3 separate regions of the Homo sapiens genome follow, and all the other regions are linked to region 2. The links are contacts of gene promoters, found by promoter capture Hi-C in blood cells and fetal thymus (Javierre and others, 2016). All regions are on one chromosome and are shown on one strand. The core of a region is centred on a gene start or on the middle of the fragment in contact, and the rest is flanking DNA. Distances in the headings are between cores, read along the strand shown.

What was found. The method cuts DNA at HindIII sites, captures the fragments that hold promoters and counts their contacts. A CHiCAGO score of 5 or more calls a contact.
Region 1: the fragment with the promoter of ITGB7 here is called in contact with the fragment with the promoter of MYG1 in region 2 in 7 of 17 cell types (activated CD4 T cells, endothelial precursors, M2 macrophages and 4 more); the score reaches 7.8 in activated CD4 T cells.
Region 3: the fragment with the promoter of RARG here is called in contact with the fragment with the promoter of MYG1 in region 2 in 1 of 17 cell types (endothelial precursors); the score reaches 5.2 in endothelial precursors.

Annotation. Positions count from the first base shown.
Region 1 is chr12:53,205,413-53,208,753 of GRCh38, reverse strand. It overlaps ITGB7 (integrin subunit beta 7), which reads left to right and starts at 1,503. Exons shown (of 16, transcript NM_000889.3): 1 at 1,503-1,552. The HindIII fragment of the contact is 16,923 bases long and covers 1-3,341 here.
Region 2 is chr12:53,298,151-53,301,641 of GRCh38, reverse strand. It overlaps MYG1 (MYG1 exonuclease), which reads right to left and starts at 1,947. Exons shown (of 7, transcript NM_021640.4): 1 at 1,689-1,947; 2 at 1,380-1,492. The coding sequence starts at 1,904. It overlaps PFDN5 (prefoldin subunit 5), which reads right to left. Exons shown (of 6, transcript NM_002624.4): 6 at 2,192-2,373. The coding sequence ends at 2,297. RefSeq lists enhancers at 1,723-1,902, 1,973-2,032, 1,843-2,137, 2,043-2,142, 2,183-2,272 and 1 more. The HindIII fragment of the contact is 10,124 bases long and covers 1-3,139 here.
Region 3 is chr12:53,229,895-53,233,535 of GRCh38, reverse strand. RARG (retinoic acid receptor gamma) reads left to right here and starts at 1,327. Exons shown (of 10, transcript NM_000966.6): 1 at 1,327-1,562; 2 at 2,301-2,367. RefSeq lists silencers at 1,142-1,191, 1,512-1,641. The HindIII fragment of the contact is 21,807 bases long and covers 1-3,641 here.

The DNA.
Region 1 (3,341 bases), core at 254-2,753, 92 kb after region 2:
TGTATGGGCCAGGAGCAAATCCCATTAATATTTTCCTGCTCTCCCTACGGGCTTCATCCTTGCCTTGGCTTCAGCTGTTGTTCCTGCACTCTCTGCTTCTCCCAGTTCACCTCCTCCACCCCTTTCCCAGGATCCACTACTGTGTTGGCTCCTGGTTCCCCAATCACATGCTCTGAGCCTGGCCCTATGCCTCTCTCTTCCAAGTTTCCAGTTGTGTGGACCTTGAATTTCTCAAAGCCTCTTCACTTCTCACCTCTGCTACTTCTCATCCCTACTAATTCTCTTATCAAGCCCTTACTTAGTATGTGCCAGGTAGTCTTGTAGGCAATTGATATGAATTATCTCTTTTAATTCTCACGACAATCCTGTGAGTCTTGCTGGACAGATGAGAAAACAGCTGCAGGCAGGTTTAAGTAACTCAGCTAAGCTCCTTACTACTAGTAAGTAGTAGAGCCAGGATTTGAACTCTAGCAACTTGGCTCCAGAGCCTATGTAGTCAAGCACACTTATATAATGTATCCTGGGTTTTCAAAATGAACAAGTCTGTAATTTCTGGCCTCTCTACAGTACTTACTGCCCCTATTCCCTCCTATCATGTTCCTTCCTATATAAGTAAATGGAGAGATCATGAATTTTGGAGGCAGGCAGACCTGGATTTAAATCCCAGACCAGCCGAGTGTGCCTGTAATCCCAGCTACTCAGGAGGCCAAAGTGGGAGGATTGCTTGAGTCCAGGAGTTACAGACCAGCCTGGGCAACACAGCAAGACCCTGTCTCAAAAATAAAAAACAGGCTGGGCATGGTGGCCCACACCTGTAATCCCAGCACTTTGGGAGGCCGAGGTGGGCAGATCAATTGAGGTCAAGAGTTTGAGACCAGCCTGGCCAACATGGTGAAACCCCGTCTCTATTAAGAATATAAAACGTTGCTGGGCATGGTAGTGCACCCCTGTAATCCCAGCTATTCGGGAGGCTGAGGCAGGAGAATCGCTTGAACCTGGGAGGCGGAGTTTGCAGTGAGCTGAGATTGTGCCATGGGACAGTGAGCTGAGATTGTGCCTGGGAAACAGAGCAAGACCCTGTCTCAAAAGTTAAATTAAATTAAAATAAAAAAAATAAAATAATAAAAATTTAAAATAAAAATCTTTTTTCTTTTTTTTTTTTAAATCCTAGACTAGCTACTTACTAGCTGTGGGACCTTGGGCAAAATTCTTTATTTCCTGCTTCCAAGCCTCAATCTCTGCATCTGTAAAATTGGGGCTTGGGGGAATATTAACCCCTATCTTATGAGATTGTTGTGAGGGTTAATTGTAATATGTTACGTTCAACACATGACAGGGGTTCAATAAATGGGCTTCTTTCTTCCAGATCTCTGTATTGTCCACTCCCTTGGCTCAGCCCCACCCCTATCTGCACCACCTTCTAGATCAGTCACCCCCACCAACCCCAAATCTTCCCCACCCTGGGGAGTGTCACTTCCTCCTCTGCCGTCTCCCAGATCAGTACACAAAGGCTGCTGCTGCCGCCAGAGGAAGGACTGCTCTGCACGCACCTGTGAGTACCAGGGCACCAGCCCTTCTGCCTCCTCTCCTTACAAGCTCTGGCCCACCTGGTCCCAACCTCTTGGGAAGAGGGCTCTGACCTGGATACCGAGGGTCCTGTCCAGACTTGAGAAAGGCTCTGAACTCCTTTCTGCATTCCTAAGATCCCCTGACCTGGTTCCCTCCTCCAGTTTCACAGTACCCCCACCTCCACCTCTCCAAAAGCCCAATCTCTCCTGCATCAGTTTCCCATGAGTGGGTCTGGAGGCAGGGATGTATATGAGTGCTGTCATCTGAGTGCCTGCCATGTGCCAAGGACTATACCGAAGTAGGGCAGGTATACCGATTATACTGAGGGAGGGTTCTTCCAACATCACCCCCAGCTGCTATCCCTAATGCTCTGCCTTCAGCTCAGACTTCTTCCTAATCGGCACCTTGGTCACAGACTCCACTGTCCTGGGACACTGAGGCCCAGCAGCTCAGTTCCGTCCCCTCCTTGTGACTCCCAGTGGGCAGCAGAGGGTTCTGCTTGATTTGGAAGGTAGGGATGGGTTTGGAAGAGGCTCTGTTTCTCAGCTGCTGAGGGGGGTCACAGGGTGTGTACTGGAGTCAGAATGGAGTCCAGAAAAATGGAAATAACCACTTGGTCCCAGAGAGAGAAGGGAAGACTGCAGAATACCCCTAAGGAAAGAGAAATGGGATTAGGCAGAGCCCACCAGGGCTAGTGGGGAGAGAACACAACTTTTGATGGAGATAGTGCCTGGGTTGGAGGGAGGAAAGGAGAAAGCACAGCAGAGGCCTGGCCCTGCCCTGTCCTGCCCTGCCCCTAGTTCACTGGGTGACCCTGGCCTCATGGAATTTAGGTTTCCATTTGTAAAAAGAGTGGGATGGAGTAGTAGATTCAGCCATTCTATAGTTAGGAACAGAGGGGAAAAGGAAGTAAAATAGCCCTATGAAGAAGTGGAGCAGAGAAAAGCAGCAGAGAGATGCAATAGAAGTTTTGAAATGAAAGGAGCCAGAGAGAGACAGAGAAGCAGACAGAGAAATAGGTGGCAGAACATGTATTCTCAAGGAGGGGAGAAGAGAGGATAATTGGAAAGAAAGGTAGGAAAGGGCTGTCCAGGAAGTCCCAGGGCCCCCTTTAAGGGGAGATGAGTGGGCCTAAGGTCTCTGAAAAACCTATGCGGCAGCCGGGGCTCCACTTGTGAGAGATGAGTCAAAACCCGGCTTTGGGTTGCAGCATCTCCAGCCTCCCTGACCACAGGCATGCAGAGCAAGCAGGGCTGAGGTTACGCTGAGGCTGAGCTGGGACTGGCCTCTCCCCGAGGGGTGGAGGCTCCGTTATATATGGCGCCTGAGGTCACAGGTGGTGGGGAGCAGGACCAGGACATTCAAGGACTCAACACCCCACCCCTTTCCCACACTCTGTGCAGAGTATCTGGACCTGACTCTGGGCCCAGGCTGAAGAAGATGCAAATGGTTTATGACAAGGAGTTAGTTGGCCTTTCTCATACATTGCTGATGGGAATGTGGACCAGTACAAGTCCTGAAGAGTTTATGTTGGCAATACCCACCTATATATATATATTTCTTAGCATGAGAATGTAGATGAAATACACACCAGTATTACAAATGATACCTATCTAGTTATCCTGCACGTCCTCTGCTAGGGATTTATCCTACAGATTCAGTTGCAGACGTGTGAAATGATAAATACATGACATTTGGCTGGGGGTGATGGCTCACGCCTGTAATCACGGCAATTTGGGAGGCCGAGGCAGGTGGGTCGCTTGAGCTCAGGA
Region 2 (3,491 bases), core at 698-3,197:
TACCAGCTCCCTGGTTTGGTGCTGAGGTAACTGGTGCCCTTCTGCCGAGCAGTTCCAGAGAAGACACTGGGAGAGTGGGCTTGAGGGGAATGAACTGGAAAGGAACAGGTGAAGCCACGGTCAGCTGTTTTTTGAAGGGTGGCTGAGAAGCAAGGGTGAGAGCTTAGGCTGTAAATATTGGGAGGGTTTCTTCCTGACATCATTTATAATATGTATGCTAAAAAAAGAAAAAAGGAGAGAGACTTAAAACATCATAATCCCTCTCTCCAAGATAATTACTTCTCGTGGTGTGGTATAATTGAGGGAGGGTTTTGTTTTTACACCTGTGTTTCTTTTCAAGATGGAAGATACTTGAGAAGGGTTTTAGGCTGTAGGGAAGGAGAGGCAGAGACACTAGTGGAACTGTGACATGAAATCCCAGAGGATAGGCCAACAGTGGCTCACACCTGTAATCCCAGCACTTTGGGAGGCCAAGGCGGGGCAGATCACAAGGCCAGGAGTTCGAGACCACTCTGGCCAATATGGTGAAACCCGTCTCTACTAAAAATACAAAAATTAGCCGGGTGTGGTGGTGGGTGCCTGTAGTCCCAGCTACTCGGGAGGCTGAGACAGGAGAATCGCTTGAACCTGGGAGACAGAGGTTGCAGTGAGCCGAGATCGTGCCACTACACTCCAGCTTGGGCGACAGTGGGAGACTCCGTCTCAAAAAAAAAAAAAAAGAAAAGAAAAAAGAATCCCAGAGAAGAAAGTAATAGACTGGAAACAGGACAGAGGATTAACCTCCAATAGAAGGGAAGAAATTTCCCTTAGTTGGTAGGAGGGAGCTGAGGATGTTTGAGGTGGGAGACTGAGGAAATGCTCAACTTCTTTTGAAAAGAGGCAGGGACACTCAGTTTGATGCGGTAGAGGCTTGAGGGAGAAGAAAAGGATTGGAATGGGCTACCCTTGAGCAAGAAGGATTTCCCTTTGGAAGGGTGTAAATGAAGTAGAAAACTTCACACATCTGAACTGTCACCAACTGCCACAATCATGTGGGCCCAGCAGTTAGGTGCAGCAGCAAGGGCACCAGAATGGATTAATCACAGATGGGTTTATTTAGTTGGGGTGATGAAGTTGCTGATGGAAAAAAAGCCTTGGCTAAGGAAGGAGATGAGATAAGGGGCCTGAGGGACTCCCTGGGAACCAAAGGAGGTCCCAGGCCAGGGAGATGGGTGAAGAACAGGCAGGGCCGGAAGGATGATGTAGTCCTAGTGGGAGTTTGATTTCAGTGATGAAGCAGTTCTTTTCGCTGACGCGGACTACGGCAGTGGATGGCTGAATTGGAGCACAGAGGAAAGCTGAGGTCAAGGAAGTTAAATAAATGGTATCTGAGAACCTACCTCTGGTGATGGTCATATCGGTGTCTCCGAGGGTCGTACTCGCCCCCCACGTCCACCACGATGTCACAGGAAGCGAGTTTTTCGGGATCCCGGGTCCGCACAATCTCTGCATCCTGCGAGGTACACAGGGGTGAAGGGGCTGCCGGGTGTCGCCGGGTAGGGGATTAATGCTGGACTTCAGGGAGGCAGGAAGGGTAGGAAGGGTGCTTGGGCTGCCGGGCGCTATCGGAGTGACCCTGTTGGCGGAATGCCATCCACCCCGGAGGCATGCATGCACGCAGTCCCAGGGTCACTTTTCGCGGACCGTACCCGGTACTCCGGCAGGAGGCGAAGCAGTGCGCATGCCAGTGCCTCGTCGCAGTGGAAGGTGCCATTGTGCGTCCCGATTCGGGGCGGTGCCATGAGTTTGCTGCGGGATCGTTTTGGGGGCGGGACGGACTCTGGACCGAGCATGCGGTGCCGGGTATACAGGGGTGGCGGCGGCAGCAGCAGCGTTAAGAGGCCGCGCAGGAATTGGTGTCCCATAAGCAGCTCCCTGCAGGGAGGCAGGAGCGCCGACCCGGAAGAGGAAGCGCCAGCGCAGCCCCACTTCCGCTTGCCAACCGTTCCCTTGGCAACCAGCTCTGCAGAGTGAGCAGCAGCAGACTCCCAGCCTAGGATTTCTTCCAGCTGGTCAAAGGGCCCTGCGATGGAGCCTCCAAGAGGCGCATCGCATCACCCCTGCGCATCAGGCTCTGAGACGGGGCCCACACTCTCGACCACACCCCCCATCTCATCACCAGTCCCTTGCTTAATCCAAGAAAAGACCAACATTCTGCCCAGCTGGCACATTTATTGGCATTAAAACACAAGACCCTTCCCATCACCAGGAAGCCACGCCCAAAGGGTGTCCCTCTGCCCCATTTCTGCAAAAACTCTCAGGCCTTAGCAGTAGCCTGAGCTGCCCCCAGGGCTGTGAGCTGCTGAATCTTCTGACTCATCATTTCCATGACGGCTGTGGAAAAAAATAAGAGTCAAAGGTTAGAAGCAAAAAGGAGAACCTAGAGTTAAGGAGAAGTGACAGGCAAGTTTAAGGACAGGCGACCGACTAACTACAGTTTGTTAATAACCTTTTTTTTTTTTTTTTGAGACAGAATCCTGCTCTTGTCACCGAGGCTGGAGTGCAGTGGCACGATCTTGGCTCACAGCAACCTCCGTCTCCCGGGTTCAAGCGATTCTCCTGCCTCATCCTCCCGAACAGCTGGGATTACAGGCATGCACCACCATGCCCGGGCTAACTTTGTATTTTTAGTAGAGATGGGGTTTCACCATGGTGGCCAGGCTGGTCTTGAACTCCTAACCTCAGGTGATCCACCTGCCTTGGCCTCCCAAAGTGCTGGGATTACAGGCGTCAGCCACTGCGCCTGGCATTGTTAATAAAACTTTAACTCAGTGATCCACTGTGGGGTCACTAACACAAATTTAGGGTCTACAATGCATCGGTCAATATGCTAACACAGCTGGGTGTGGTGAGAATGAGACTCTTCTCGGAAAAAAAAAAAACCTGCTAACCAAAGATATAAAAACGAACACAATATGGTATTAAATGAGTCTGACATAATCAGAAAACTATGATGGGGAAAGATTTTTACCTTTGGAACACTGGTTCTGAATCCTGATTATAACAGAGGGGAGCTTTTTTAAAAAAAAACAGACCTTGGTACAACTTCCCCTCCTTTGACTTCCAAGTTGATTTAGTCAATCTGGAATGGGCCCAAGCTTTCTTTTTAAACTTCCTGAGTGATTCTCATGTGCAGTCGGGGTTATAATTGCTGGTATTTAGTTCGTTTGGATCATGATTCCTTCCTGTGTGTTCATCTCATTCCCCCATTCCATCGTCATTAAATAGGAGCTCCACCAAAGCACAAACATGATTTCCTTCCTCTAAATTTCTCAAACGCTCAACCCAGGAATCTACAGATAGTGATTATGCAATACACAGATTCTAAAGATGCCAAAGAGAAACTAAGACATAGTTTTACTCCAGCAAAGGGGACACCCCCGTGGTTCACACTGCAATCCATGTTCCTTATTATGGAGATAGGGTCAAGAGGTGCCCCAGGAAAAACTTAC
Region 3 (3,641 bases), core at 78-2,577, 67 kb after region 2:
CCCCCAGGGGGGAGCAAGGACAAAGCCAAGTAATTCCAGTATGGAAAATGTGACGTGACCCAGGAGTCTGTGTCCCAGGTCCTGGTCACCCTGCGAGCATTGCTGGGGAAGGTACTTTGGGTATGTCTGTCCAGCCTATCAGCCTAGCTCAGACTCTCCCCTTCTCCTCTTTCTCCCTCCCAACTCCAGTCCCCATGGGAGTGTTTGGGATCCGTGCACAGAGCTTGGACTGCAGACCCATTCTTTTCTCTCCCTCTGTCCTCAGTAGAATGCAGAGTGAAACCACTGGGTTCTCTCACTCTAGGGTTGAGAGTCTGTCTATGTTGAAGCAGATAATGCCCCCATCAGACACAGACACTCACTCTCGGCACTGGCATGCGCACGCGCTTGCACAGACACACACACACACACACGCACACACACACACACCCGGAGTCAACAGCATTCATGGCACATCTACCAGGCAGGCAGGCAGGCAGGCCGGTGCTGGCTAGGGCAGACACACACCCTCTGCCTGGGCTTTCTCTCTCACACCCAGCCCAAGGCTCCTCCCACTCCCAGCCACAGTTCCTCCTGCCCTCCTCTCCAGCCTCTCCCCTTCCAAATCCAGGCCTAAAGGTGGGGGACAACTGGCAGCCAGGGACCCAGGCGCCCTAACTCCTGGAGCTTACTCCAGGCAAGATGACAGGGAAGATGTCTGTGAGCCCTGGCCTCAGCACCCCCAGCAACAGCCACTAGTCAACCAGTTTGCTCCTGGGACCAAAGGACTGAGGTGGGCTAGGGGAAGGGAGAGGCTACTTGGATCTGCAGGTGAAGGCTGAGCAAAGAGTAAGGGCAGGAGCATCTATTCTAGATCTGGCATACTCCTGCCCGGCCAATCCAGCACTGGGAGGGAGTGGGTACCGCCCCATTGCCTACCCTGGGGAGGCGCCAGAGACTGGCCTCGCAAGAGTCACAGCCTGGCCACAGACAACTCAACTAGTCCCCCCAAAAGGCAGAAAGGAGAAAAGTGCCAGAGAGAAAAGGTTGGCATCACGGGGCCAGGACACTGACCTCCTCTGCCAGCCGTGCCCGGCCTCCCAGAGGATGGAGTCACGGAAGCCTAGCAAATGGGAAGGGCAGAGACCCAGGCGTCCCGGGCCGCCCCGCCCAGTCCCCCTCCCGCCCACCCATCCCTCCGCCCCCCAGCCCCAGGGCACAGAGGAGGGAGCCGGGCAGGGGCAGGCAGGGGAGGGAGGAGCGAGGGCGGGAGGGGGAGGAGGGAGTTGGGCAGGGAGGGAGGTTGGGGGGGGGGTGGGGAGGGAGAAAAAGAAAGAAAATATTTTCCGTGTCCCCGCCTGCAGAGTCAGTGTGCGGTTTGGGAGAAAATGTGTCGGATATTTTGGGGCGGTCACGTGGGCGGGCGGGCTCCGAGAGGCCCCGGGACAGTCCCAGCCTAGAGCCGTGCCCCCCCAGGAGCCCCCCAGTACGGCGAGCCCCGGACATTGCGACGCTCCATCCAAGAGACTGCCCGACGCCGGGACCTCGGGGCTCCGCCGCCTCCCTTCCCCCTCCCACTCCAGGTGAGTCAGGCGGGGAAGCAGGCTCGCCCGCCCCGTCGCCTGGGTCCTCCGGCGAGGCGGCTGGGGGAGGGGGCGCGGAGGAGCTGCACGGGCGAATGCCCTCCCGAGGCTGGCCAGGCTGGCCGCCGGGCTTGAGGGGGGCTTCTTGCCCCGACCCAGGCCAGTCCTGCTGTGGGAAGGGAATGGGGAAGATTTTAACAGGCTGAGGATGGGCTGGGTCATCTGCCCTTCATTTTGGTGCATAGCAGAGGACAGCATTTGGGGAAGTCTTCAGCCAGGGGGCATTCCTCCTTATATTTTTGTGCTGGGAATGTGAGAGAAGACAGGGTTTCCTCTCGCGGGGAAAGACTACCACCCCCTTACCCCCGGGCTCTGAGGGGTAGATTTGATGTTCCATGCTGGTCCAAGTTCCTCCCTCCCCAGTGGAATGGGACAGCTTGGACATCAGAAGGCAAGGAAAACGTCCAGAGGCAAGTGAGCCTGGCCCTCCGCGTCCAGGAGTTCCGAAGGACTGGTGCATAGGATAGGGATCTGTGAACTTTCCTTGAAGCGCTGGATTCCCTCCCACACGTTCCCAGCCCAGGTGCGAGCCTTGGCTCCCTCCAGCCAAGGTGGGGGGCACCTCTGGAGTATTCTTGAGGGAAGCCCAAATGGAACAAAGAAAGAGCAGGAAGACCGGGACAGGGACCCAGGAGTGCTGGTCCCAGAGTTCCACTGACGCTGCCTCTCTGTCTTTAGCAGCTACGGCCCAGTTCCCTCAACCTGACCCAGTATGTAGAAGCCAGTCTCTGCAGGCGGCCAGCGGGTAAGAAGATGCTTGGTTGTTAGTGGTGGTGGGGGCAGGGGAGCCTGAGTAGGAGGTCTTCAGGGCAAGAAACTGAGATGACTGTCCCGCTTTAGGGCTCTGGTCCTGGGCAGCTGGAATCCCAATCCTCAAGTCTGAGGCTTCTGCCCTTAGGGTCAGATGCTGAGTTGGGGTCAAGGACCATAGCCAGCATCTCATATCCTTGAGGCAAGTAGAGAGAAGACAGGGGAGTGGGGGTAGTGTGTGCAGGGAGCCTGGAGCTTGGGTATCCCATATAGACAGACATACACACACACACACACACACACACACACACACACACACACACACACGCACTGTGGCCTACAGCCTAGTAGGCAGCATGGGGCACGCCCCCCCACACCCCGGCACACCCCCACCCCTGGCTCAGAAAGCCACCTAACTGGCACCTCCAGTTCCCCCCTCTGCCCCACCCTGTCCATGCCCTCTGATGCCCACACACATTCCACTGGCATTGCCTGCCTGCCTCCTGGGCACTGCCCCTCCCTGGGGCTAGTAGGGTGGAGGGAGGGCACCTGGGGATGAGAGGTGGAGACTCAAGGGTCTGGACTCCCCCAGGGATGGCACAATGCCAAGGAAGCCTGGCCCACTGCTGCCTCCTGGGGAGCAGGCTGGGGGCCCAGGCTAGAGCAGAGGATGCCTGGGTTCTCTGCCCAGGCTGGAGATGGGGTCATGGAAAAAGGTGGTCGTGTTTATACAGAGGGGAGGGGGGCAGCGGGTGGAGAGTGGCCGACAAGAGCAGCTTTGTTCCAGGCTCTGGAGCGGGCAGGGCGACAGGGAAACACACCCCCCTCCATCCGGCAGCCCCCTTCATCCATGCCCTCCCCTCAACTCCACCTCAGCTCTAAGAGAAGCAGCTTTGTAAGAGCCCCTCTCCCCTAGTCTGTCATCCCCGCTGCCCCACCATTTGAGATGGCATCTTAGTAGAGGAAGAATGTTCTCTACTTTCCATGAGTCCCCCAAAGAACCAAGGCACCTGGGGCCTCAGTTTAGGACTTCCTTTTACTCTGCACTGCCTTCAATTCCTTAGTCCATTCTCCTACCCTGGGTTTAAGACCCTCCCCTTCTCTTCCCAGCCACGACAGAACCAAGGCTCAGAAATGGGAGGAATCTCTACCCCCTTCCTCTCTTCACTCAACTCCCAAGTCCCTTCTCTGAGGCAAAATAAGAGGAAGGCCAAGGACAACTCTCATTGGCTCACATGCAGCATCATTCCTTGGTGAGGATCAGGAGCT